2 separate regions of the Homo sapiens genome follow, and region 1 is linked to region 2. The links are contacts of gene promoters, found by promoter capture Hi-C in human tissues and cell types (Jung and others, 2019). All regions are on one chromosome and are shown on one strand. The core of a region is centred on a gene start or on the middle of the fragment in contact, and the rest is flanking DNA. Distances in the headings are between cores, read along the strand shown. Region 1 holds the start of DYRK1B (dual specificity tyrosine phosphorylation regulated kinase 1B). Region 2 holds the start of IFNL1 (interferon lambda 1).

Region 1 (3,628 bases), core at 358-2,857, 540 kb after region 2:
CCTCTGCAGCCCTAAAACCACATCAGCGTCCTTGGGGACCTCCCAACCACACCAAAGTTATCTGAGAACCTCTATAGAACAGAGTCCTATCTCTACAGCATTCTCATCCACCAGGGCACGATTTTCCTAGGGGACCCTCTCCATATCATGCCAAGACCGCTTCCCTATTTCAGGTCCTCCATATTAGGAACCAGCCTTCCAGGTAGTCTCCCTGTACCATATCCCAATTCCCCCTACCACAACAGGGTTCTTCCCCATATTACTCCAATATCCCATCCCAATCAAGGCCCACTCCTCCTGATGGGAGAAGGAGGAGGTGTCTCTTCCCACAGTTTAGAGTGATCATCCTTTTCTCCCCTACACTGCTTCCTTGCCCCCCTACACACACACACACACCCTAATATTCCTACCACAGACCTTTCTCCAGGCACCCCTCTTTATACCAGGGTCATTCCACAACTGTGTCCACTCCTAGAGGGCCTCAAAGTCAAATCCCCAAGTTATCACATAGGGTTCTCTCCTCCCAGAGTTGTCAGCTACAGCAAAAATCTTCTCCCCATGGGCCACTCTCTCCCCCATGTCAAATCCCTTTCTCCTATTCCATGCCTTGCCACTCCACGACTCCTCCACCCTTGGAGCTTCCCCCAAAAAACCACCTCTTCTCCGGGGCCCTCCCACACCAGGATCATCTCTCCCAGCCCCCACCCCCTACCCGGGTCAGGGCTGGCGCGGGGCCCACGGGGGGCTGGGGCGCGGTGGGGCCCCCAGTGGGGTGGGCGAGCGGCCAGCATGGCGGCGGTGGCGGCGCTGAAAAGGCGACCGCCTGTCTCTGGCCCGGCCGGCCCCGCGGCGGGGAGGGCAAGCGGGACAGGAGGCCCGGTGGGTGACAACAGCAGCCGCCACTGCCACCGGGGGCGGGGAGAGGAGGGGACAAGGGTCAGCCCAGGGCACGCGGGGGAAGAGTAGAGCAGGTGGACGGGGGAGGGGCGACACGCCCCACCCTGAGTGACCACCAGCCCCTAGGGACCCGGCGTCCCGCCCCCCACCCAGGAGGCCCTCCTGGGCCTGCTGAGACCGGAAGGCGGGGCCCGACTGAGCTTGGCAATCGGCACCTGCCATGGCAACAACTGTACCATTGGTCGCTGGTGCCAAGAGCTCAGCCAATCACAGCCTAGGGCAGCTGTTGCTAGGCGACGAAGAAGCGGCCCGCGGAGCTGAGCCCAAACAAAGGGCGGGAGTGGGGCCCGGCTACCCCCTCCCAGCCTCCCTCCTGCAACTGCTTCCTCGGGCTTGGCCGGTTCCAGGAATTCAACTATGAATAGCCAGGCAGGGCCCGCACCTGCCTGCCACCCCCCTCCTCTCCTCCCTTGGCCTCGTGCTAAGTCTCACGGCGACGGGAGCAGGGCGGATCCCGTCCTGCCCACCTCCCTGCGACCGCTTGCCGCCCCACCCGTCCCCGCGCCGTTACCTGAAGGAGCGGGCAAGGGGACTCAAACTGCTCGGGGAGCCCGAGCTCAGACCTGCCCACTGGCTGAGGGTATCCGGCGGACGCGGCAAGCCAGGGCCCCGATTACCCAGTAATGCAACCAGCAAAATGGCGACCACAACAAACCGGCCCCCCCACGCCCTGGACTCCGCCCCCATCCCTCCCTCTCCGCTCCCCTCACGTGACCCACACTGACACTCCGCCTGCGCGAGATGGCCGCTTACCTGCACGCATGCGCAGCGAGCTACCAATCCCACCCAAGAACCGAAATCCAGGCTGCCGCTGCGCAAAGGCAGCTAGAAACGGAGCATGCGCTCTGTGACCGAGTGAGAATTTACCCAACCCCGCAAAATTGACCAAGGGTGCGTGCTCCCTGTGTCAGCAGGTCAAGGGGAGGAATGAGCAGCAGACATGGGAGACGGATGAGTCTTTTAATAGAAAAACACACGTGCAACAGTATCAACACACATCTCTCGCAATCCTGACAGCGCTGAACTTCAGTTCTTCACCTTGGGGGGTGGCCTGTGAGAGGAAGATAGGTGATGAAGGAGGGTCCCCAGGATCATGGCACTCGGGGTGCAAGGGACAGAGATGTCTGTCTTGGTGTATTGCTGGGCCCCTGCTCACCTGTACACTCCCACGACCACGGCATGGTCTCTTTCATATGGCTCAAGGGTCAACTGCTCCTGCGGCTTCATGTTCTCCTGTTGCATCTTTTTCACTTCGGAGGCAAACACGGCCTCGGCTGAGGCTGTGGAGTCAATGCAGTTGGCCTAAAGAGGAGAAAGGACTAATGTCTACAACAGGGCTTTGGGCTGTTTTTCTCTTGTGTGCTCTTTAAACCAGATGTTTTCATTATTAATTCAAGTAAAACTCAGTGCTATGGTTCTAGTGTGTCCCCCAAAGTTCATGTGTTGGAAACGTAACCCTTAAATGCAAGAGTTGAGAGGTGGGACCTTCGAGAGATGATTCAGGTCATGAGGCCTCTGCCTTCCTGAATAGAGTAATGCTATTATCACAAGAGTGGGTTGCTGATTAAAAGGATGATTATGCCCCCTTTCTATCTTGCTCTCACCCTTCTGCCAATGGATGACAGCAAGAAGGCCCTCGCCAGATTCAGACCTCCAATCTTGGACTTTCCAGCCTTTGGAACTGGGAGCCAAATAAATTTCCATTCATTATAAATTACCCAGTCTAAGGCTGGGCGTGGTGGCTCACGCCTGTAATCCCAGCACTTTGGGAGGCCGAGGTGGCTCAATCACGAAATCAGGAGATTGAGACCATCCTGGCCAACACGGTGAAACCCTATCTCTACTAAAAATACAAAAATTAGTCGGGTGTGGTGGCGCACACCTGTAGTCCCACCTACTCGGGAAGCTGACGCAGGAGAATCGCTTGAACCCAGGAACTGGAGGTTGCAGTGAGCCGAGATCGTACCACTGCACTCCAACCTGGTGACAGAGTAAGACTCCATCTCAAAAAAATAAAAATAAAAATAAAAATAAATAAATTACCCAGTCTATAGCATTCTGTGATAGCTGCATAAAATGGGCTAAGACACTCGGGTTTAGGAAATGTGATAAAAGGCTTAATGAAAGTTTTTGGCTGGGTGCAGTGGCTCGTGCCTGTAATCCTAGCACTTTGGGAGCCTGAGACAGGCAGATTGCCTGAGCTCAGGAGCTCCAGAGCAGCCTGAGCAACATGGCAAAACCCCGTCTCCACTAAAAATATAAAAGTTAGCCAGGTGTGGTGGCACACGCCTGTAGTCCCAGCTACTTAGGAGGCTGAGGCAGAAGAATTGCTTGAACCTGGGAGGCAGAGGTTGCAGTGAGCTGAGATTGCACCACTTCACGCCAGCCTTGGTGACAGAGCGAGACTCTGTCTCAAATTAAAAAAAAAAAAAGTTTTTAGTTTTGTTTTGGATTTGAAGCAGGAAGCCTTAAACAGTCCTATTTATCTAAAAGCCAGTGCTTAAATTTTATACCCAGGAATTGTTTGGCTTATTTCTACTTCCTCTTCTTTAATAATAGTAATAATGCAGTTGAGAATAATAAAACAAATGTAGCAAAAGGCTAACAAATGGTGAACCTTGTGAAGGGTGCATGGGAGAGTTCTCCATTATTTCCAAATAAAAATGCTGTG
Region 2 (3,552 bases), core at 918-3,417:
GCTACCCAGAGGGACAGAAAGGAGAAGTGGGCCTGCTACCCCCAGAGGTTCTCATCTTCTACCTGGGCTGCATATGGAATAGGGAGCAAGTACATAGGACTCATCATACCCCATTTCTGCCTCTATCCCACTGTGGGACCTTAGGCAAGTCACTTTGCCTTCCTATGCCTCAGTTATCTCACTAGTAAAATGGGCATGATTATTGTATTAGTCAGGGTTCTCCAGAGAGACAGAACAAATAGGATGTTTGGATAAATAGATGATAGATAGAGAGATATAGACTAGATAGATGAGAGAGATAGACTAGATAGAGAGAGAGAGAGAGAGAGAGAGAGAGAGAGACTAGATAGATGAGAGAGAGATAGGAGGGGATTTATTAGGGGAATTGGCTCAGACAATTAGGGAGGCTAAGAAGTTCCACAACAGGCCATCTGCAAGCTGGAGAACCAGGGAAGCTTGTAGTGCAGCTCAGTTCCAGAATAAAAGCCTCAGGACTTAGGGGGTAGCTAGTGCAAGTCCCAGCATTTTTTTTTTTTCTGAGATGGAGTCTCACTCTGTTGACCAGGCTGGAGTGCAGTGACATGATCTCAGCTCACTGCAGCCTCCGCCTCCAGGGTTCAAGCGATACTCCTGCCTCAGCCTCCCAAGTAGCTGGGACTACAGGCCTGTGCCACCACGCCTGGCTGATTTTTATATTTTTAGTAGAGATGGGGTTTCACCATGTTGGCCAGGCTGGTCTCGAACTCCTGACCTCAAGTGATTCACCTGCCTCAGCCTCCCAAACTGCTGGGATTACAGGCGTGAGCCACCATGCCCAGCTGCACATCCCAGCATTCAAAGACCAAAGAGCCTGGAGTTCTGATGTTTAAGGGCAGGTGCAGGGTGTCCCAGCTCATAAGAGAGAGCAAATTCTCCTTTCCTCTGCCTTTTTGTTCTATTCAGGCCCTCGGCCAATTGGATGGTGCCCACCACATTGGGTAACAACGGGTCTTCCTTACTCAGTCCATTGATTCAAATGCCAATCTCTTCTGGAAACACCCCAGAGTCATACCCAGAATTAACGCATCACCAGCTATCTGATAAACTTAACCAGTCAAGGTGACACCTAAAATTAACCATCACAATTATAAAAATAACTACTCAGAGAAACATTAGGAGCATGAACTGAAATTAGTTAATGGGACATTCTTAAACCAATGGCAGAAGCTCCTTCTTGGCCAGGAGCAGTGGCTCATGCCTTTAATACTAGCACTTTGCGAGGCTGAAGCAGGAGGATGGCTTAAGGCCAGGAGTTCAAGACTGGCCTGGGCAACATAGTGAGACCCCTATCTCTACAAAAATAAATAAATAAATAATAAAGTAAGGTGGTGGCTCACGCCTGTAATCCCAGCACTTTGGGAGGCCAAGGCAGGCAGATCATCTGAAGTCAGGAGTTCGAAGCCAGCGTGACCAACATAGTAAAACCCAGTCTCTACTAAAAATACAAAAACTAGCCAGGCGTGATGGCATGCACCTGTAATCCCAACTACTTAGGAGGCTGAGGCAGGAGAATCGCTTCAACTCGGGAGGCAGAAGTTGCAGTGAGCCAAGATTGCACCATTGCACTCCAGCCTGGGCAACAAGAGCAAAACTACGTCTCAAAAAATAATAATAACAATAAAATAAAAAACAAGCTTTTTTTTTTTTGAAACAGGATCTCACTCCATCACCCAGGCTGGAGTGCAGTGGCACGATCTTGGCTCACTGCAACCTCCGCCTCCCGGGTTCAAGTGATTCTCATGCCTCGGCCTCCTGAGTAGCTGAGACCACAGGCGCATGCCACCACACCTGGCTAATTTAGAATAAAAAAGAAGCTTCCTCTCTGCCACTCAGGTAGCCTTATCCCTAATCTCAGCCTCCGTCAGGGACTCCCTGAGGCCAGTTGGCTGAAAGCTGCCCAGGGAGTTCTAAGGATTTCAGTTTCTCTTTCCTTCTTGATGCAGCTCCCAGCTCACTTGGCCCTGCCCACACCTGTTCCCTCATCAGGCTCCCAGACGGGCCCCGCCCACTCATGCCTCTTAAGTCAAAGTGGAAATTCTCATTTCCAATTACCTTTTCACTTTACACACATCATCTTGGATTGCCCATTTTGCGTGGCTAAAAAGCAGAGCCATGCCGCTGGGGAAGCAGTTGCGATTTAGCCATGGCTGCAGCTTGGACCGTGGTGCTGGTGACTTTGGTGCTAGGCTTGGCCGTGGCAGGCCCTGTCCCCACTTCCAAGCCCACCACAACTGGGAAGGGCTGCCACATTGGCAGGTTCAAATCTCTGTCACCACAGGAGCTAGCGAGCTTCAAGAAGGCCAGGGACGCCTTGGTGAGTTCCTGTTGCTGTGGATGAACCACTTCTACGGGTGTCCCAATTACTGCCCTTCTACTGTGGGCTAGCCTCTAGCCTTCCAACTATGGCAAACCTCTATCCTTTCTGCACTGGGTTAAACCCATGCTGTCAGGCCAACTTCATCCTTGCTGCTATGAGCTAGCTTCCAGCCATCCTGCTGTGGGCTAACCCCTGCCCTTGCTCTCTAGGAAGAGTCACTCAAGCTGAAAAACTGGAGTTGCAGCTCTCCTGTCTTCCCCGGGAATTGGGACCTGAGGCTTCTCCAGGTGAGCTGAAAGTCAGGCCCCCTTCACCCTTCCCTTGACCCTCTCCCCCCTCTTCTTAAGTGGCCCCTTAGCCTTCTTTGTTTCCCTTGTCCTTCACTCTCTTGGACCTCTCCTCACCTGTCCTGTGCCCCTGCCACTTCAAAACTGCTCTCTTGACTCTGTCCTTCCCCTGGGTCCCTTTTATCATCTCCCATCGGCCCCACTTCCCTAGCTCGCTCACCTGTCCCTGTCACTTCCACTCTCACTCTTCATTTCTCTCCCAAATGTCTCCAGTCTGTCGCCCACCTGTGCCTTTCGTCCTGCTCCACTTCTCCCTGTCTGTTCCCAACACTGACCCCCTCTCCCTCTCACCTGCCTCTGTCACCTGTCCCTCATTATCTCTCACTGACATTCATCCAGCTCATGCTCCCCCCTCATCCACCCTTCTCTTTTTTTTTTTTTTTTTTTTTTTTTTGAGACAGAGTCTTGCTCTATGGCCCAGGCTGGAGTGCAGTGGCATGATCTCGGTTCACTGCAACCTCTGCCTCCCGGGTTCAAGCAATTATCCTGCCTCAGCCTCCCGAGTAGCTGGGATTACAGGCATGTGCCATGATGCCCAGCTAATTTTTGTATTTTTAGCAGAGACGGGGTTTCACTATGTTGGCCAGGCTTGGTCTCGAAATCCTGACCTCAGGTGATCCACCCGCCTCGGCCTCCCAAAGTGCTGGGATTACAGGCGTGAGCCACCACACCCAGCCCTACCCTTCTTCTCTGTGCATGCAACTGTCCCTCTCTTACTGTGCCCCCAACCTGCTTTCTCCTCACCCGTCCCCACCCCGCCCCAGAGAACTTCTGTGACCCCCGTAAGTCCCCTTTCATTTGTCTCCATTTCACTTATCCCCTCACCTGCCTCCTTGACCATCCTGCCTC

The links. The method cuts DNA at HindIII sites, captures the fragments that hold promoters and counts their contacts. A contact is called where the count stands out against the background at its distance.
Region 1: a contact is called between the fragment with the promoter of DYRK1B here and the fragment with the promoter of IFNL1 in region 2, in 1 of the 25 tissues and cell types used here (stomach).

The regions. Positions count from the first base shown.
Region 1 is chr19:39,832,555-39,836,182 of GRCh38, forward strand. DYRK1B (dual specificity tyrosine phosphorylation regulated kinase 1B) reads right to left here and starts at 1,608. Exons shown (of 11, transcript NM_004714.3): 1 at 1,469-1,608. It overlaps FBL (fibrillarin), which reads right to left. Exons shown (of 9, transcript NM_001436.4): 8 at 2,114-2,259; 9 at 1,904-2,008. The coding sequence ends at 1,984. RefSeq lists silencers at 781-1,050, 1,311-1,420. The HindIII fragment of the contact is 28,957 bases long and covers 1-3,628 here.
Region 2 is chr19:39,294,240-39,297,791 of GRCh38, forward strand. IFNL1 (interferon lambda 1) reads left to right here and starts at 2,168. Exons shown (of 5, transcript NM_172140.2): 1 at 2,168-2,353; 2 at 2,566-2,643. The coding sequence starts at 2,183. The HindIII fragment of the contact is 11,779 bases long and covers 1,065-3,552 here.